Linked DNA regions of Homo sapiens: all the other regions are linked to region 4. Evidence: promoter capture Hi-C in 16 types of primary human blood cells and fetal thymus (Javierre and others, 2016). All regions are on one chromosome and are shown on one strand. The core of a region is centred on a gene start or on the middle of the fragment in contact, and the rest is flanking DNA. Distances in the headings are between cores, read along the strand shown. Region 1 overlaps LINC02691 (long intergenic non-protein coding RNA 2691). Region 2 has its middle 120 kb from the start of LINC02691. Region 3 overlaps KIF26A (kinesin family member 26A). Region 4 holds the start of TMEM179 (transmembrane protein 179). Region 5 has its middle 31 kb from the start of LINC02691.

Region 1 (4,131 bases), core at 1,554-4,053, 370 kb before region 4:
CTAAAGTGGGGTCATCACCCCTGGGTGGCCTGGGTCACCAAGATGCTACCCCACCCAGCCTGATGGGATGCCTGAGCTCCAAGCCTGCCCCCTCACAGGGGAGATGATGGCCCCACGAAGGCCCCCCTGGGTGCTTGTGGTGGCCGCTCACTCAGTCTCTCTCTCTCCAAAGCGGCCTGCCCGTCCGCGAAGTCACTTAGCTGGGATCTAATCGGGTTTCACAGGGGCATAAATTACTTGGCTAGAGGTTGTTCCCGGGTGTTTCCACCCCGGGCCTGTTATTTACACACCGTGCGGTAATGTAGTCACGGCCTTGGGTGCGCAGTATTTATGGTGTTTGATCGGCTTCCAGCCCAGGCCGCCTGTCCAGGAACATTTGTTGAGATGTTGTGCAGAGCCGCTGGGGACCTCTGCCACAGGCGGGCATCAATCTACCTGGAGCTCCTGCGGCAGCCCTGCAGAGCCTCAAAAGGGCAGGGCGGGCCTGTGGTGCCACCCTGAGCTGGTCACTGTCTGCAGATGGCAGCTCTAGGAGTGATGGCTGAGGACGAACAAGGGTGCGAACTGTCACTGACATTTCCGTGGGGCGTGGACGTGACACATCCCGAATGCCATACCTGGCTGTGGACAGTCGCACCGTTAAAGGCAGCAGCGCTAACTGCCGTTCACGGAGCACCCACTGTCTGCTAAGCTCAGTGGAAGATCCTTTGTTTTATTCTCTCCGTGAGTGCTTGTCGCAGCCCTGCAAGGTAGGTGTCCCTGATGGGAAACTGAGGCTCAGTCACTGCAGGTGACTTCCCAAAGGAACACAGCCTGGGAGCTCCATGTGGCAGCTTCCTCTGGCTCTTACAAGGGGAAGGATGAGCTCCCGTTGGTTGCTGGGGTCCCGCCCCTTTGCCTTCATGTCTGTGATGGTGGAAATGCTTCATAAGGAGTGTAAAGTGGTTTTTGTTCCCGACCCAGAGAGATCTGGTCACGGTAATTCTGTATCTGCTTGCCTATATTTATCCCCCAAGTCCGGCTGGTGACAGGGAAGCAGATGATCAGTGCCAGGCCTGATAAATTGGACCCAGGGCTGAGGCGGGAGAGAAACCCTGTTTTATTGTTGAAGACAAAGCCGTCGGGCAGGAGGCATATGTTGTGTTGGAGCCCTCGCTGCGACGGAGGCCCTGGGCCTCAGAGCAATCAGGGCTTTCACGAGCACCCCCCACCCACTACCTACGTGGGAGGCAAGGACCCCCATTAGCCCGGCTGGCTGTGGGGGAGGGGCTGACAGAATGTCAGTGGGGTGGAGGGGAGAGGAGGTGATCAATGAGGACTTATTGACTTGCATCTTTCCCCACGACTTGATTAAGACCACTATGGAGATGAGGCCTGAGGAGGGGGCTAGGGCCAGAGCCCCGGGCCAGTGTGGCTTAGGGGATCTTTTATGTTTGGAGGGCAGGAAGGGAACAGAGAGCTGCCGGCTTTGTCAGATGCCTGAAGAGTATTGATCCATATTAGAAATGATAATGAGCCAATTCTGCTGGGCTGGGAGGCCTTAACCATTTCATTGCTTACAAGGCTGTCCTGGTGGGGATGTTGGAGGAGGCTCAGCCTCTAGCTGCTCCTCACCATGTTTCTCCTCGCTCAGGTCTGCAGCTTCCCAGGCCACGACCTGAGTCCACTGATGGTCCTGGAGGTCTGGCCAGAGGGGCAAGGGCAGCAAAGGAGAGGAGCACAGGACTGGGAGCTGGAGCCTGGTTCTGGGATTGGCTAGACCCTGCGGGGTTTGCCAAGCACCTGGTGGGTGCCTGACATTCTGTGCATCTCCTCGGGCACCTCTAAGGTGGTCAGGATGACCCTTACTGCTATAATGACAGATGAGATGAAGGCATGGAGGCTCATAGTTGCCAAGAGGCCAGGCCTCTGCCTGCCCCTCCAGCACTCTGGGACGTGATGCTGCCCCTCAGACCTGCCACTTGCTGATGGAGCTTTGACTTTTGTTGAGTCATTTACCCCATCTGGGACCCACTTTCCTCATCTGTAAAATGACAACCACAGCAGGCTTGCTGAGATAATTCAGAGAACAATGACAAGGGCTCATACAGTCCAGCCCTGCACCAGCACTTGGTGGTGGGGCCTGGCCTGAGCCTAAAGCTTGACTCTAGCTCTGTGTCCACTTTAGTGAACATTTAAAGTTGAGGAGTCTGAGTTTGCTCCTCCATGGAGGGAGGACATGCCATTCATCTTTCTAAATGGTTGTGAGAATCAAATGAGTCTATGCATGGGGAGTACCTAACATGTAGTTGGTGGTTAACAGAAGATGGCTGTCATCATTGTCATTGTCACCATCACCATAATCATCATATCACCATCACAACACCCTCACCACCATCATCATTACCATCATGATCATCACTGTCACATCATCACCATCATTACCATCATCATTACCATCACCATAACACTCCATCAACATCACCACCATCATCACCATCGCCATTACACTCCATCATCAACATCACCACCATCACCATCACCACCACCATCATCACCATCACCATTACACTCCATCAACATCATCAACACCATCATCATCACCATGACCATCACCCCATCATCATCATCACCATCATCACCGTCACCGTCATCATCACCATCACCATTACACTCCGTCATCACCACCACCATCATCATCACCATCACCATTACACTCCATCATCACCACCATCATTACCATCACCATCATCACCATCATCATCATAATCAATATTATCACCATCACATCACTCTCACCACCATCATCACCATTACCATCATCACCACCATCACCATCATCATCACTATTGCATCATCGTCACCACCACCATCCTTACCATTACACACCACCATGAGCATATCACCACCATCATTACCATCATCTTCATCACCATTATCATCACCATCACATCATCATCATTATAGCTATACCATCACTGTCATCAGCATTACTATCACATCATCATCACCATCATTGCCATCATCATCACCATCATCATTGCCATCATTATCATCACCATCATCACCATCACTATCATATCACCATCATTATAATCACTATCACTGTCATCATCATCGTTATCACCATCACATCATTACCATCACATCACCATCATCACCATCATCATCATGGTCATTGTCATCATTATTATCATCCCTGTCATTGTCATCATCTCTTCATTATCATCAACTTGGCAGAGATTGTGGTTTTGTTCCCATCCCAGAGAGATCTGAAGATGCTAATTCCATCCTTGCCTCTATTTATCCCCCAAGTCCGGCCTGCAAGGGAGGCTGCTAATCTGGCTGCTGAGTATGCCAGATCCATGGGATCCAGGGATCAAGTGGCTCAACCCCCTGGGATCCATGCACTGGCATTTGTCTGTGGAGTCCAGTGGTAGGTCTTCCCACTACCAGGACACCAGGCTGGGTAGGCAGGCAGCATGGGGAAAGCTTGAGGGTCAAGGCTGTGAAGCTGTGGTGACTGATGTGGGGTCTGCTGATGGGGAGGGGGTGCTTGTGCAGGTGGTATGGGGCTTACTCTACTGCTGCTCCCCAGGAGTAGGAGGAGGGGCTCCAGCTTAGGATGACATATTTGGCTGCTTTCTACACAAAGAAGATGCCTTTGTTCAAGCTCAGGCTGGTGCTGGAGAGAGCATCATCCTGACCTGGGCACAGCTAGGGAACATCTCTTCTGGGGTATCATCTTATGAACCATTAGAGGCTTTGGCTTGGGCAGAACTGGGTTTTAGTTCCATCCTGACCCTGACTTGCTGATATGGTTTGGCTGTGTCCCCACCCAAGTCTCATCTTGAATTGTAGTTCCCATAATCCCCACACGGGAGGTAATTGAATCATAGGGGTGATGATTTTATAAGGGTCTTCCCCCCTTTTCTTGGCTCTCATTATCTCTCCTGCTGCCCTATGAAGAGGTGCCTTTTGCCATAATTATAAGTTTCCTGAGGGCTCCCCAGCCCTGCAGAACTGTGAGTCCATTAAACCTCTTTCTTTTATAAGTTACCCAGTCTTGGGCAGTTCTTTATAGCAGTATGAGAATGGACTAATACAATAAATTTGTAGCAAGAGTGGGGTGCTGCTATAAAGATATCCAAA
Region 2 (3,750 bases), core at 164-2,663, 260 kb before region 4:
AGTGTTGTGCTCTGGCATCTTGTTAGCCTCATCCTAGTCCTGGCTCTGCCACTCCCCCTTCATCGTCAGTCCTAGAGACACCTGCTGCTGCCAGTTCCTGAGATTTTAAATATTCTTGGGAGCAAATCAGACTTATTCACAGTTTTTCCCTTGCTGGCTCAGGAGTTGTCTTTCTCAAGTCTGCTAAGGCAGTTAGCACTTGTCTATCTGCTTTCCAGCTTCCAAAATTTTGTTGTGTTTTACTGTTTACTGTTAGTTGTTTATGATTTAGTCTGTCATAAAGTACACTTCCCCTCTTCCTGTTGTGTTCTTCTCATCCCTAAGAGTTTATGTCATTAAAAAACCTCTCATTATAGTTTTAGTAGGAGTGTGGAGAGAAAGTGAGATGCATATGTTCAGTCTATGATCACAATCAGAATTCCCTAGAGGATTTTCAAAAGGCATTTCTGAGTAGGCACAGTGGCTCAAGCTTGTAATCCCAGCACTTTGGGAGGCCAAGGCAGGAGGATCACTTGAGCTCAAGAGTTCAAGACCAGCCTGGGCAGCATAGTGAGACCCTGTCTCTACAAAACTTTTTGAAAATTAGCAGTGAGTGGCAGTGCATGTCTGTAATCCCAGCTTCTTGGGAGGCTGGGGCAGGACAATTGCTTGAGCCTGGGGGATTGAGGCTGTGGTGAGCTATGATTGTGCCCCTGCACTCCAGCCTGGATGACAGATAGACCCCATCTCAACCAAAACAAAAACAAACAAACAAACAAAGGCATTTCTTTGATTACTGAAGAGGTTGAACTTACTTCCAAATGTTTATGAATCTGTGTATTTCCTCTTCTGTGAAATGCTAGTTCAAATTTTTTGTCCATTTCTTCCCACGGGGATTTTTGCCTTCTCTTATCGATTTGTAAAAGCTCTTCATATTTTTTGTATTCTGTTGGTCAGTTAGATGTGTTGCAGATACTTTCTCGTAGCCTGTGACTTGTCTTTTCACTTTTTGTTGTTGTTATTGCTTTTTGTAGAGAAGGGGTCTTGCTATGTTGCCCAAGCTTGTCTTGAATCCCCAGGTTCAAGCAGTCCTCCCACCTCAGGCTCCCAAAGTGTTGGGATTATAGGTGTGAGTCACTGTCCTCAGCCTTCGTTTTCACTTTTTAAATGGTTTCTTTTGCTGAATTGAATTTCTTAATTTTAATAAAATTGCCTTTTGTTACAGCTTTCCCTTCACGCTTTGCTCTTTTTGTGTCTTGAGAAGCCCTTCCCTCTTCAACAGTCTTTTTAGTTATGCCTTTCATGTTTAAATCTTTGATCATTTGGGATTTATTTCTGAGTATGATGTGAGGTAGGGATTCATTTTCTCTACTTAAAAAATGTATGGAGAGCAAGTTTCCCAGCATCTTATCAAAAAACATCCTTTCTACACTGATCTGCACTGTTTATTCTGTCAGTTATACTTCAAGTTTCCATTAGTATATATTTTTCTGTGTTCTCAGTAATCTTCTGTTGGTCTTTTTGTCCATATCTGCACCCATACCATACAGTTTAATGACTTCAGCTCTGTGCTAAGTCCTGCTGTGTTGCATAGGTCCCAGCTTGCTTTCTTCTTCAAGAGCATCTTGGCTAATCTTAGTCCTTTGCTCTTACATGAAAAAACCTCTTGTGATTTTTGTTTAAGTGTGTTAAATCTTTAGGTCAATTTGGGGAAAACTGACATGGTGATGAAGTACATAGTATGTTTCTTTATAAAATATATGATACATCTCTCCTTTTACTTACACCTTCTTTAATGTCTTTGAATAAAGCTTTCATTATTTTTCCCATAACGTGTTTGCACATCTGTTGTTGGTTTTATTCTTAGGTATTCAATATTTTTAATTGCTAGGGTAAATGACATTTTAAAATTTATATTTTAAGACCATGGTTGGTATAGAAATCGGTTTGTATAGATTGTGATTGTATTGAAATGCAGTTGGATTGGGGTATTGATTTTGTGCCCAGCAAACTTGCTAACTATCTTCATTCTAATTAGTATTAGTTTTTTTCCCTTCTACTTAAACAATCATATTATCTGCAGACCATGATCACATTTTCTCTTTTCTTTCCTCATGCATTTATTTCTTTGCTTTACTGAAACTGGACTGGCCCTTTGGTTAACTTTTGACTTTGTAAAAAAGCCTATTAAAATTATGAGTAACAACTGCCTTAGTGCATGCAGGCTACTATATCAAAATACCTCAGACCAGGCAATTTATAAACAGCAGATATTTATTGCTTACAGTTCTAGGGCCTGGGAAGTCCAAGATGGAGGTGTCAGCAAATTCAGTGACTGGTGCGCCGGTTTCTCACAGATGATGACTTCTCCCTGTGTTCTCATAACGCAGAAGCCGGAAACAAGCTCCCTCCAGCCCCTTCTGCAAGGGCACTAATCACCTCCCAAAGGCCTCATCACCTCTTGATACTATTGCATGGGGGTTAGGCTTCAACATATGAATATTGGGGGGATGCAAGGATTCAGACCACAGCAACTACTGAGACAATGTGAATAGTACACACAACCTCCAACCCGGTACAGAAGGAAAAATCAGGAATAAAAAATGTCTAATTCACATGAAGGTCAGAAAGGAAGAGGAAAATAAAGGTCAGAGGCAAAGTATGGAATTCCAAACGTGGAATGCCGAAATGGAGAACTCAGGTCCGGAGCCGGTGAATTGCCCTCCGCGCTTATGGAGATCGCCTGCAGCGCCACCTGCAGGCTGGAGGAGCACTCCGGGCCCCAGTTCACCGCCCTGGACCCAGCTGGCACCACCTGCGGTTCCCAAGGACGCATCCAGTAAGGGGCGGGGCGGGGCGGGGCGGGGAGGGGCGGGACTCACCACCCATGTGACCTGCACTGGCCTGGAGGAGCTGCCTGACTGCAGCGGACTCTGCCAAGAATTTCAAGAGGTGCAGTGGTCCAGTCATAAAGCAACATGAAAACGCTGTAAAAAGAGTTTAATCGCGCACACGAGGCAGACATTGCATTTAATTTATCACCCTGCAAAATTAAAGCCATTCTGGGGTTTGCTATCGCTCATGCAGGGTGGAGTTATTTATTGGACACTGTCAGAGCCGAGGGGATCTGAAATTCAGGTCAGGGAAAGTCAAGTTTACAAAGGCCCGTCCGGGTCCCTAGGGGCCCAGATGGCTCAGGGCAATGTTCCTGTGTCTTGCTGCTGCAGAGGCTGAGGGGAGCAGGCACTGTGTTCACATCCTTGATGAGAAAGCCGAGCTCCGTGTGGGTGCGTGCAATCCTGCCTCCCCGAGCTCCACGCTCTGACCCTCTAACTCCTCAGACCACTAAGTAGGCTGTCCCCTCACCTGCCCCTTTGACGATGTGCTGGGTGCCAGGTGCCTGAAATGCGTGCTCCTACCTGCCCAGCCCTGTAAGGAAGCCCTGCATGGTGACCCCCATGTCACAGATCTGAGCCCTGGCTGAGTTGATCACCGGGCCTGGCGCTGTCCACCCAGTCTGTGCTGAATCTATTTGAAGAAACCCATGGGGTCCTGGGCTTGGACCTTTTGCTTGGCCCAGGGAGGAGGGGCAGGGCAGGCGTGAGGCCTCCTAGAGGAAGGATGGCGGCCGGTTTGAAATACACCTGGGAAATGGCTCCGGGGGACACCACAGATTTGCCTTCAAAGCACTTGTTCAAGCAGTTACTCACTGGGACTGATTGCAGAGGAGGTGGGCAGGGGGCGCTGGCCGGGCCTCTGGGCTCTAATTAG
Region 3 (3,993 bases), core at 65-2,564, 440 kb before region 4:
TTCCTGACACTGGGAAGTAAGGGTAGGGTGTCGGCCCCCAGGCCGGTGCGTTGGTGACCTGGAGCCCAGCAGAGCGGCCCTGGCTGCCTTTTGTTTGGGAGCCGAGGCCGGTGCCGCTTGCCAGCCGCGCTGCCTGCTGACCTTGGGAAGTTACCATAGAAACCAGCGCATCGGGCTGGGGACCCAGAGGCGGTTCTCCCAAGGCGGGGGCGCTGCCGGCTGCCATTACTTCCAGCCTGTTAGGCACCCTGGGTCTCAGCGGCTTCTGCGAGGCCACTGCAGGTGGCAGGTCGTGGTTCAGGTTGTGGCGGGGGACATCCTGGCAGGTGGGCCCTGTCGGTGGATGCCTGACGTGGGCTGGGGTCGGTGGTGGGTGACCTCCTCTGTGGGGCTGCAGTACCCTGAACCCTCAGGGGTGAGATCAGAGGGGGTGTCCACTCCTGGGTTTTGTGGGTGTGGGGCTGTGGCTCTGAGTGGGGACGAGTCCACCAGGAGACAGTGGAGCTTCAGCCCCCGCCCCAGGGGTCTTGGGCACGTGCTGAGGGTACCTTCTGTGCTCCCACCTCCACCCTCGAAGAGGACCTGGGAGGGAGTGGCACTGACCCCAGCCCCTGCTCTGCCCTTGGGAAGTTTCCAGTCTGGAGGGACCGAGGGGCACCTCTGTGGAGGCAGCCTTAGATGGCAGCACGGGACCCGTGTAGCAGTCAGGGCAGAGTGGCCTCTCAGGGAGCGGGCTTTGAGGGTTGAGTAGGAGTCTGGCAGGCAGCATTGCCAAGTGGAGACGGAATGGGGTGGAGGTCAGGAGTTTGAGTTTTTGAATCCCGTGGGCCTGGGGAGTCTCAGCTCTGCTGCTGCCCACAAGCACCCCCCAGCCGGATTAGGGCACCAGCCTCAGGCTGCCCCCTGATCCTTTCAGTGGCCTCTGGGCTCCTTATGTCCACACAGGGAAGCTGGGATGTGGAGTGATCCCATGGGTGCCCGGGTACCCGAGTTTCGTTAATGCTAACAGGGGCATAGATAGAGCAGGGGCTGAGCCCCATGCCCTCACCCCCTGGGTGGGGCCTGGGGAAGCTGCAGGGATTGAGGCAGCGCAGCTGTGACAGAGCTTGGCATGCTGGCCCAGCAAGTGTTCGGGAGGGTGGGGCGCGTGGGCCGGGTGGCCCCGGGGTTAGGAGTTCTCCGAAGGCTCTGGTGACCCCCAGGGTTAGGAGTTCCCTGAAGGTTCTGGCAACTCTGATGACGCTGTCTGAGGCCCCGCTGGTTTGTGCCGGCGCTGGGAGCCTCTGCAGTGCCTCCTCTGAGGTACTTCCGTCATCATACTCTCACCTGCTCGCTGCCATGCTGGTATGGGGGTCCCCTCCAAGACCCCAAATCAAATGTCTTTGAGAAAACTGCTAAGGGAGGTTGCTTCCATTGGGTGGGGAGCACCTCATGGCACTTGCAGGTACCCAGGCCCCCCACTCCCCACCCCACTGTGGCCTCAGCAGAGCCCCCGTGTCAGCCTGGATGCCCAGGCCCATGGACGGTCAGGCTGGCACCCAGCAGAAGTGCAGCGCCTGCGGGGAGAGTGCGCTGCCCGAGGCTTAGCTGGGGACCCACATGGAAGGCACTGTCTGGAGAGGTGTCCCCACCTGTCTTCTGGCCTGTGGGTGAAAATCCAGGACACAGGAAGTGTGGACCACAGCAGGGCTGGGAGTTGGAGGGGCTGATGCCTCAGTCTCCAGCTGCCTCCAGCTGGGGTCCAGGGTCCCCTTCGCAGGTCTGCAGGACCCAGCTGGGGTCCCCCGATGCCTGCCCTGGTTCCTTGGTGGGGCAGGTCCGGCAGGTGGCAGGTGCCCCTGGGGTGAGGTGGGGGTAGGGAGGGTGGGGCTCCGTCCACCAGCCTCGCACGGCCCAGTGTGGAAGCTCTGGGTTGGCCATAAGTGATTCCTGCACGCGACAGAACAGGCTCGTGTGTCTCCTTGGGGTAATTAAGGGCCTCACCATCAAGGCCAACTGCCTGTGAAATTACCCTCTTGTTTGGAAGCGGTGATTTTTCTCTGTAAAAAGGAAAATATTTCCTTTTCTGTTGACATGAATCGATGGCCAGGGCCAATGAGCCCAGGCAAGGCTGTGGGATTGCAGCAAGACACCTGGTGGCTCTGGGGGCCGTTCAGGTGCCCGCTGTCTCGTTCATCCTCGCTCACGCGTGTTCTGAGCTTCTTCTGTGAGCATCTGCCCCCAGACCCCCTGCTGGCAGGGACATAGCTGTGTAAACTGGTGTCTCACGGCAGGGGGTAGTTGCTATAGAAGCAGGAGGCGCAGGGGCTGGGGACACCCATCTCAGGGCATCAGGGCAGGCTTCCTGGAGGAGGTGTCCTGTGAGGATGGGGGCTGTTTATGCAGGTGAAGTTCCTGCTTTTCTGAGTCTTCCCTTCAGAGTCAAACCCCTCAGACTTGCCCACTGAGGGCCGCCGCTCCCTGGCAGTGTTGGGTGTGGGCAGTGTCTGCTGTGGCCTGGGGGAGACAAACCCCACTGCTCAGAAAGTAAGTTCCTGCCTCCACAGGGCCGTGGGCCCTCAAGGGCTGTTGAACCCAAGCGTGGTAGCCAGATGGGGGCTGCTGTGTCTGATGGTCGTTTCCATGGGGGCCTGAATTTCATCAAAGGAGAAAGTGCTCGTTCTGGGGCCTCGTTAATGCAGTGGCAGGTCTTTGAGTCATACCAGTGAGGTAAGCCCGTAAAAGCAGGCACCGGGAGGGCCCAGCAGGCTGGGGTGCAGCCTGTTGGCGATGGGCCCCAGGAGGAGGAGGCGCCTCAAGTTAGGTCAGATTGTGGGGTGGAGATGTGGGGCGAACAACCTTCCAGACTTCCAGGGCTGATGGAACCACAGAGGACGCCCGGTCCCAGCCTCTGTCTAGGCGGCCTGGGCCCTGGGTGTGCCCGCTGTGGCCCAGGCATACCTGAGATCTGTGCTGCGGACGCTGCTCCTGGGAGGGTCACTGGAGGGGCAGAGCCCTTGTGTGGCCGACGGGGCAAAGGGCCAGCCTGGTTTTGGCCTCTGCAGACCTAAGGCTCCAGCCTCAATCTCCCTCTGGCCTCTCCAAGTGCTGCTCCAGTCTCCAGTGCTTGCCCGGCCTCCGCGTCCCCTGGAAGCTTGGGGGTGTGGGTGCCGATGCCCTATTGCCCACAGCCTTGGGTTGCAGCTGGTACCTTGACCCTGCCCAGCCTTGGGAGGGGCTGCAGGGGAGGGTGGAGGAGCTGGCTCTGGGTGGGCGTGACCTCTCCCCATCCACTTGAGGCCGAGCCAACACCCTCCAGTGAGGGCTGGTGCTGGGCGTCCCCCACATCCATTTCCAGAGGAGGAAAGGGGTCCAGGGAGGCTCCCTGTCCCTTATAGGGGCCACCGTGGGGACCGTCCTCAGCCCTGCCTGTCCAGGTAGGGTGGGGGGCTTCCCACCTGCACCTGCAGGGCCCTGCCCTTCCCCCCGCCCCGCCCCAAGAAACCTGGGGTCCCAGCCTTGGAGCAGCACCAGGCAGCAGGGTGGGGTAGCCCTGTCCCAGTCCTGCCTGCTAGATGCGGATGTTTTCCAAAGCGGGGCCGCAGCTTCTTCCCTTGCAGGCAGCTGGCGGGAAGCTGAGGTGTAACCCAAGGTCGTGGGGTGGGGGGTCTGGAACAGGAGGCTGAGGCTGGGGTGGTGGGCAGGCAGGAAGAACCCCAAGAGCAGACACTGGTGAAATCCAAGCCTCCTCCCACCTGTGCCCCCAAATGGGCAGATGCAGCCCTGCCTGCCTGCCTCTGGCCTCGCCCAGGCCCCTGCCCAGTCTCCCTGCCCGCTATGGGGGCTCACTTTGAGGTTTGGGTTGTGGCTCTGCCCTCTGCGCTTCCCAGCGTTCCCCTCTGCCCGGGCTTCTTGCCCTGTGGACAGACGCACAGACACACAGACAGCGTGGGCGAGTGTGTCGGCCTCCATCCTGTCCCTGATCTGCTGTGTGAGTGATCTTTGGGCGACGAG
Region 4 (3,722 bases), core at 1,131-3,630:
GGAGGTGAAGAAGTGCGTGAGCGATGAACCAACTGTGGCCCCACCTGGCCTGCACCCTCCACCCTCAGCTTCCCAGACTAAAGGGACCTCAAGCGTTGGGAGGCTGACCCTACTCGCTGGCTGTCCCACTCCCTCTTCACACCTGTCTCATTCAGGGAGGCTTCCACCTGCCTGCCCTGCATGCACAGCATGGACTGGGCAACTCTTGGGTTTGGCAACATGGGTGCAGATGACGTCTCAAGCCTCTTCTTGGGACACCAGCCCTGGAGTGGGCTGAGGGAAGGAGGACGGCTGCAAATGGGCAGGACACCACCCTGCGCCCGGCCTGACCCCACCTTGAGCAGGGCTCCAGCCACACAATTTGGGCCCATGGCCCCACAGTACCTGGGTCCTCCCAGGCTGACAGCCAGCTTTCTACTGACCCCCATCCAGAACCTTAGTGTCGTGGGTTGAATGGTGTCCCCCGAAAGATATGCCCAAGTCCCACCCCTGGTACCCGTGACTGTGACTTTGTTTGGAAATAGCATCTTTGCAGGTGTAATTAAGCTCTGGATCTCAGGATATCTCCCTGAGTTTAGAGTGGGCCCTGAATCCAGTGACTGGTGTCCCTGTAAAAAGAGGGAGGACAGAGCAGAGCAAAGGCGCCCTGTGAGGACAGCGGCAGAGGGTGGTGGGACAAGTGGGTTTCAGTCCAGTTGGTGCAACTGTGCTGCAGCAGCCCCAGGGCGCTCCTACCCACAGGCGCTGGGATTCTCATTCCTCCTCCAGAGTTTGCAGCCCCACTCAGCATAGCCCTGGCTCCCTCCCTTCTCCCTGAAGCCCCTCTTCTTCCCCTCTCTGGCCCCTCTCTCAGCCAAAACCAAGCGGTGGGCTCACAGCGGGGGCAACAGGAGGGCTTCCCCACTCCTGCCGCCCACACCCCTCTGAGCCCTTCTCATCTCCCACCTGCGTGCAGGAAGTGAAAACCTACAACAAAGGATGGGGGTGAGGGCAGAGTTTGGGAGGAGCCTGGGTTTCATGAGTGCTCTCCCGGAACCTCTACAGGATCTCGGGCTGCTCCTGGGCACAGCAGGCCTCAGCCAGGGGAGTGGGAGGGCCCACAGAGGGCACCCACAGAGGGAGTGGGTGGGTTCACAGAGGGAGTGGGTGGGCTCACAGAGGGGGTGGGTGGGCTCACAGAGGGGGTGGGTGGGTTCACAGAGGGGGTGGGTGGATTCACAGAGGTGGTAGATGGGCTCACAGAGGGCACCCACAGAGGGAGAGGGTGGGTTCACAGAGGGAGTGGGTGGGCTCACAGAGGGAGTGGGAGGGTTCACAGAGAGCACCTGCAGAGGGAGTGGGTGGGCCCCCAGAGGGCCCCCAGGGTGCCACTGGCTAAGGGTGTCACCGCACCCCAGGTGAACCAGGTTGTATGGGCTCCAGTATCTAGCCGGAGCAGGAAAGAGAAAGAGGAAAATGCAGGCCAGGAGGAGGAAGGCGCTGAGCCCACAAGGCACAGCCCTCGCCCTGCAGTCTCTCTCCAGCTCCCCATCCAAGGCCTGAGCTCGAGGTGGGCCTGGGTGGCTCCCCTCCAGACAGCCATCTGCCGTCCCTTTCCCGGGGCGATGGTGCCGGGTGGGGCTCCCCAGTTCGCCTTGTCACTGGGACCTGGAGAGCTCAGTGCAAGCCCTAGACCGGGCTGGGAGTTGTCGCCGGTCCTGGCGAGTGTGGCCCGGCTGAGCCCGCCCAGGAAGGTCCAGGCCTGCTGGGTGATGACAGTGCAACATCTGCAACCCAAGGGAGCAGATGCCCGGAAGCGGGAGGTGATGCGCAGCTGGGGAGGGGAGGCACTGGCCTTGTACGCAGGACCGGTGGTCGTCATGGTCCCTGGATGTGTGTGTAGACAAAGGGCGGTCTGAGTGGAGGGGGTGAGGGCGGATTGTTGACATTTGCGGGCCTCGGAGCTGCCTGAGAGACGGAGGGACTCGCGCGCCTCCCCGGGGAGGTGGGTCTGGGGGCGCTGGGGGCATGGAAGGGGCGCCGCGCCGGGAGCGGCCCCCACTTACCCCTCGTGTCCCTTGCAGAGGAAGAAGAGCGTGCGCCAGGCGTGCGCGGCGGCCAGCAGCAGAGACAGGAGGCTGGCGAGCAGGCTGAAGCGGCAGGCGGCCGGCGGGCCCCACTCCTGCACCGTGAAGCGCTCGCGCTCCTGCACCGTGAGGTTGGCGCTCAGCCACATGCCCTCGGTGAAGAGCAGGCAGCGGCCGCGGAAGTCGTGGCCGTTCTCGGACAGCGGGACCACCACCACGAAGCTGAACAGGAAGGCCAAGAAGTAGCAGGCGCACTGAGCGAAAAGGAAATTGTTGAGCGCCATGGCCGGCCCGGGCGAGAGCGGCGGCGGGAAGGCCGCGGGAGGCTGCGCCGGGCGGGGAGGCCGCGGGAGGCTGCGCAGTGGCGGCGCCGGCAGGTCCCGCGCGCCCCTCCCGGGACGCGTGCGCATCGGCCGAGCGCGGGAAGCGCCTGCGGTCAGCACCGCGGACAGCTCCTGGTGCGCGCGGGCCAGGAGCCCGGGGTCCAGGGGCCAGAGAAGGGCGGCCTGCGGGAGATGCGGGAATTTTACCAGGTCGGCCTGGAGGGACCGACCCTGTGCCGCTAAAGACTTCGGGAGCCACCTGTACGGGCCTCACACAGGCCGACTCTGGGTCGTCAGTTCCTCATCAGCTCGAACGAAAGGAGACCAGGAGAGAGAGGGCGGGGCGGGGGGTGTTGGAGGACACCCCCAAGGTGCTCATAGTGAGGTGTAGGAGTGCGGTTTGCAGTCCAGGCTGAAGTGATTCCTTTGCGGGGGTCCCGAAATGCAATGTATGAGGGGAGGGGCCAGATCGTGGAGGAGTCGGGGTCCAAGGGACTGGGACAGAGGTCATCCTCGAAGAGATGGGGAGGGTGAGGCCAGGTGTGGGCAGGAGGGGGTGGACCGGGAGCTTCTGCAGCGCCAGCCCTCCGCGGGGACGTGTGTTACACTGCCTGACATGGGCAGGACCCTGGAGCTGCATTTGTAAGATAAATAATGGGTGTCCCGAGCGCCTCATTAAGACATCTTTGCTGAGATGGAAATCGCTGAGGCATTAATTAATAGAATTAATGCCTTTTCTAGTTGCCTTTAAGACTAAGTCACCTTTAGTCCAATTCCCAGAGTGAGGAAGCCTTAACATTGCTCCTCCTGGTTTAAAATTCCATCAGCATTTTTGTTGCAAGCATTAAAAAATATTTTTGTTTTATTGACTAAGTAATATATGCTCATTTCTTAAGTCAAGTAATAGAGATATGTATACAATAAAATAGAAAGCCTTCTCCTCATCCCCCTCCCCTACCCCATCACACTACCAGGGGTGACCACTTCAATAGCCTGGCATCTATTTTTCTAGACATTTTGCTAAGCACATAAGCACACACACAGAATTAACAAAAATGCTTCATACCATACATAGTTTTCTGAAGGCTGATTCTTTTATTCAACAAAATGTCAAGGAGATTATTCCCTGCCTACACATACACCTATTTTGTTCTTTTTAATAACTGCATAAGACTCCATTATAATGATGATTCCACAATCTGCATAACTATTCCTCTTAAGGTGGATGTTTTGTGTCTCCAGTTTTTGCTGTCTCAAATGCTGTCATGTGAACATTCTTGTACACATATGTTTGCGTTCTTGCACAGGCATTTTTATAAGAGAAATTCTTAGA
Region 5 (4,214 bases), core at 1,385-3,884, 410 kb before region 4:
TTGGTGACTTCCAGGCCAGAGCCTAGGTAGACTGGCCCAAACCCTCAGAGGGTCCCCCCAGGGCAGATGGGCTTCCCGGTGTAGGCTGTATCTGTGGAGCCCAGGGAAGGGGGCGTGCGGGAGGGCAAGGGGGCTGCTGAGGGTGGGATGTGGGTGGAGGAGGCAGGATGGAAGGCAGGGGCAGGGCTGAGACCTGGCAGTAATGGGGCCACACTCAGAAGGACCCACACTGTTATGCCCAGTCGTCGCCACCTTGAAGTTCATAACGACTCTTGGATAAGGTGCCCAGGGTTTCTGTTACGCTGTGGGCCCCACCCAAAATTATGTGGCTGGTTCTGAAGAGGGGACTCTGGGAGCGGGAAAGGCAGGCACAGAGGCTGAGGTGGGAGTGCTGGGGAGGCCGGGGGTCCACGCTAGCTGTCTCCATTCCTGATTCCTGCCCTGGGGGCAGAGGGTGGGGCTGGTCGGGCCTGCAGCTCACTGTCCTGAACCCCAGTTGCCTCCATCCCGTGCCTCCTCCCTGCTCCCCGCCATGAGCCAGGCTGCAGAGGTGGGCTGTACTCCCAGACTCAGCATCAAAAACTGCCCTGTGACCTAGGAAAGCCCCTTGGCCTCGCACTGGTGAAATGACACTGACCTTTGATTTTTGCACTTTAAAGGGTGGAGGTTGGAAAGGTCTGGCGAGAGCCACAGCCTGGCCTTGCAGGAGCCAGCTCCGACCTGTGACCTCAGCCCCCTGGGCCTCAGTTTCCCCATTATGGAAATGGGAACTTGGAGGCTTAGGGCTCCCTGCACAGTGGAGGTGGGTGGGTCCCTGAATGGGGAGAGCAGAGGCTTTGGGGCAAGAAGTTTTGGTGGGTGAGAGGCAGAGGTGGGGAATGCAGGCAGGGGCCTCCCCTTGCACCTGCATTCAGGGGAACAGAGGACGTGTGGGCCAAGACCCTAGGAGGTCTGAGGACTGGTCCCAGGTTGGGGTGGGCATGGTGGCTCGGCCACCGTGGGGAGGCAGAGGGCTGCTCGTAAATCCACGCTGCTGTCAGCTGAACGGCAATTGCGGATTGAGGCGGCCATCGGGGCTGACCTCCTGGGTCTGACGGGTCCATCACAGAGCAGCACCGCAGGGAGAGGCGGCTCTGCCTGGGAACCCACCTGCACGGACCACACGGCCCAGGGCCTGCCAGTTCCTGCCTCCCGTTCCTGGGTGGGGCTCACCTAGTGTCACAGAGACACGGAGTGTCGGGCAGTGACTGGCCTCAGTGCCCAGACCAGCTGGGCTATCTGAGTGCAAATTCTGCCTGCTGTGTGACCCCAGGTGTGCTACTGAACCTCTCTGTGCTCCTCTGAAACTGGAGATCCGTATTCACCCCTACCTCACTGGGGCTCAGTTAGATGATTTGACCCGGAGTATGCAGCTTAGTGGTGCCTGGCACATAAGGAACGCCAATGGATTTGGCTCCAATGGGGATGGCACGGACAGGGGTAGGATGATGTGTGCACAGTGCAGCCTCCCGTCGGGTCCACGGCCAGGCTCTGCTCCCACCAGCTGTGTGGACTCAACATGGAGCCTGGGAAATAGAAAAAGGCCTGTGAAGTGCCCGGAGCCAGCGGCACAGGGTGGGGGCACCAGGAGCTGCTGCCTGGTCCTCTCTAGGGCAGTGACTATTTGCTGCCATTGCCACGGGGATTTATCGGGGCCCCTCCATGTCCAGGCGTGGGCAGGTATCCGTGTCACCCCGTGTTACAGACCAGGAAGGCCAGGTCCAGGGCAGGCCGGCCTGTGCAAGGCTGACGGGAGGAAGGAGAGCCAGGCCTCTCCCTGCCTCGCCTCGCAGCAGAGCCCTGGGTCTGGGCAGGAGGACGGGCGGCCACAAGGAGGGCCAGACCCACCCTGGGGCCACACTGGGTTGCGTCTGCCCCTGGGGTGAGCCTGGTGGAGCCGGAGGGGCACTGCAGAGGGGCAGAGGGGTCTCCTCGCACTCGGCATGGACTCTGCCCCTGCTCCTGAGACTGGTTGGCCTTGAGGGCTCCTCCGGGAGCCTGGTGCCCTCACTCTTCAGAACAGCTCAGCACCCACAGCCTGGCCAGCTGGAGCAGCTGGGTGGTGGTTCAGATGGGATGGTGGGGTCAGTGGGACAGGCTCTGGCTTCTGGGGGCAAGGAATGAGCTGGAGGCAGGGGAAAAGGAAGGGGCTGGGCGTTGGGCGGGCTGGCACATGGGATGTGCCTGCTGAGGCCTGTGGGCAGGTCTTGGTCTGGGGACAGCCCTGCCCCTGTGTGTACCTGGCTCCCTGCTCCAGGCAGCTCCCCAATCTCAGGCTCAGCTACCCGGGGCCCTCTGCCCTCGTCTTTCTGCCCAGCTCTTGGGGGCTGTCCTGCTTCTGTCTCCCAAGGGCCTCACCCAGAGCTGAGGCAGGGGTGGGGATGCCCCCTGCCTGTGGCTGGTTGGCCTGCTCTCTCTCCTGCTCCCTTTGCTGTGAGTTGGGTGAGGAGGGGGCTCCGCCGCACTTGAGAGCTTCTAGCAGCAGCGCACCAGGCACAGGCATCGTGGCGTCGGGTGGCAATACATGGGGTGTGAACATAGAGCCGGGGCAGGTTGAGCAGACTCGCAAATGAGCTCCCAGCCCCCAGGGAGGCCTTGTGGGAGACCCCAGCCCACTCCCAGGGACCTACCCCAGTGCACCCCTGGGGAAATCAAGGCTGGGGTGGTCTCCTCTCGCAAGGCTGCTCAGCCCTCTCCTCCCCAACCACCGAGGCCTCTGCTGGGCGAGATCTCACAGCCTTCAAAGGCAGAGCCCTGGTGCCCTTCTCTTGGCATCTGTGCCCACTTCTCGGCCCCCACCCCGGCCACTCCCCCCCACCCTGTGGATGTGTCTTTCATCTGTCCCTTTGTGGCCCTCAGCCCTGTCCTCCTCCCTGCACTCTCCCTGGGCCACCTGCCCCTGCCCTGGGGCTTCACGTCCCCCTGGGCCACCTTGGCCCCCAGACCCCATCCCTGTGCCCCACATCTGCAGTTCCATCGTTTCTCTGGTATCTGCCCCATGTCCCTCCGGCCCCCAGATCTCTCAGACTTGTTCTCCCCTGTGCACCCCTCCTGGGGGCCCTGTTTCATCCTCTTCCGGAACCGGGGCATCAACTTGGGTTCCCTCCTCACCCTCAGTGCCTCCACCCAGCCCCAGTGCCATGGCAGGGTCGGGACCCTCAAGCTCTCAGGGCTGGTCCAGGAAGAGCCTCTGTCCAGGTGACCTGGGCACAGGGGGAGCATGGCAGTGGCGGGGGCAGGTGGGAAGGGATTGGCTTAAAATGCAGCATTCACTTAAAAACACAAAGAACATTTGTTCACCATGAAGTCAGGTCCTGCTCTGGTTGGTCTGTTTTTGGTTTTTACCTGGTTTTTTGGTAATTACCTGGTTTGCTTTGAGCTGCTTCCAGGCATCAGCCAGCCCCATATCCTGGTGGGGTTTCCTGGGGCCCCATTTATGCTCCCTTGGAAGTACCAGAGGGTCTTCTTTTCTCTTAAAGAAACAAATATTTGCACAGTTCAGCGCTGGGAAGGCCTCTGGCCGAGGTGGCCCGCGCACCCTGAGCCATGAGGGGTCAGGGCTGGGCAGAGGGGAGGGGGTGGATGAACGGCTTCTGCAGAGACAGTCTTGGCTCCACAATCTCCTCAGCTCAGGAGTGTGGATGTGCCATCCTGGAGCAGGTGCCTGTCTCTCCATGGTCCTGGCTGGGTGCCGTGGGTTCCGGACGGCAGGGCACCTGCCCATCCAGGGCTCCGGAGCAGCGAGGCTAGGCTGGGCCTTCAGCTCTGTCCTTGCTGGGCAGCGATTTCCTCTTCTGGACAATGGGGAGAGCTGTCCCTCGTCCTGGAGGGTGAAGTGGGTGGTGTGCGTGATGATCCCCGGTGCCCAGCACATGGTGGGCTCAGTGAAGCCAGACTTTTCTAGTTCTTCTTTAGTTCCCTAGACCTAAGCTCTCAGCTCGTGCTGTGTCAGGGCTGTGTTGAGGGAGGGAAGTCAGGTGTAGACTGAAGCTCTTAAGACTCTTAAGAGCTTCTACGGTCCAGGGTGTCACCTACGGTCCAGCAGGTGACTGATGGTCTAGCAGACGATTAGGCCAGTAGAGAGGCAGAGAAAGTGCGGGGGACTCAGAGGAAGGGAAGTGCTTCCATCTGGGCCAGGGGTGGTTAGGGAAGACTTCCCGGAAGAGGAGGTGCTT

Evidence for each region. The method cuts DNA at HindIII sites, captures the fragments that hold promoters and counts their contacts. A CHiCAGO score of 5 or more calls a contact.
Region 1: a contact is called between a fragment that was not itself captured here and the fragment with the promoter of TMEM179 in region 4, in 1 of 17 cell types (endothelial precursors). The highest score is 5.2, in endothelial precursors.
Region 2: a contact is called between a fragment that was not itself captured here and the fragment with the promoter of TMEM179 in region 4, in 1 of 17 cell types (endothelial precursors). The highest score is 5.4, in endothelial precursors.
Region 3: a fragment that was not itself captured here is called in contact with the fragment with the promoter of TMEM179 in region 4 in 3 of 17 cell types (M0 macrophages, total CD8 T cells and megakaryocytes); the score reaches 6.8 in M0 macrophages.
Region 5: a fragment that was not itself captured here is called in contact with the fragment with the promoter of TMEM179 in region 4 in 2 of 17 cell types (naive CD4 T cells and M0 macrophages); the score reaches 6.0 in naive CD4 T cells.

The regions. Positions count from the first base shown.
Region 1 is chr14:104,229,463-104,233,593 of GRCh38, forward strand. All of the region lies in intron 1 of LINC02691 (long intergenic non-protein coding RNA 2691), which reads left to right. Among named protein-coding and RNA genes, the nearest start is that of LINC02691, 7.9 kb to the left of the region's middle. The HindIII fragment of the contact is 1,332 bases long and covers 2,138-3,469 here.
Region 2 is chr14:104,339,409-104,343,158 of GRCh38, forward strand. No RefSeq gene overlaps it. Among named protein-coding and RNA genes, the nearest start is that of LINC02691, 120 kb to the left of the region's middle. RefSeq lists an enhancer at 2,778-3,391. The HindIII fragment of the contact is 750 bases long and covers 1,039-1,788 here.
Region 3 is chr14:104,159,458-104,163,450 of GRCh38, forward strand. The region is part of intron 4 of KIF26A (kinesin family member 26A); the gene reads left to right. Among named protein-coding and RNA genes, the nearest start is that of KIF26A-DT, 23 kb to the left of the region's middle. The HindIII fragment of the contact is 3,634 bases long and covers 1-3,131 here.
Region 4 is chr14:104,602,392-104,606,113 of GRCh38, forward strand. It overlaps TMEM179 (transmembrane protein 179), which reads right to left and starts at 2,381. Exons shown (of 4, transcript NM_001286389.2): 1 at 2,046-2,381. The coding sequence starts at 2,350. The HindIII fragment of the contact is 15,381 bases long and covers 1-3,722 here.
Region 5 is chr14:104,190,496-104,194,709 of GRCh38, forward strand. No RefSeq gene overlaps it. Among named protein-coding and RNA genes, the nearest start is that of LINC02691, 31 kb to the right of the region's middle. The HindIII fragment of the contact is 5,448 bases long and covers 1-4,214 here.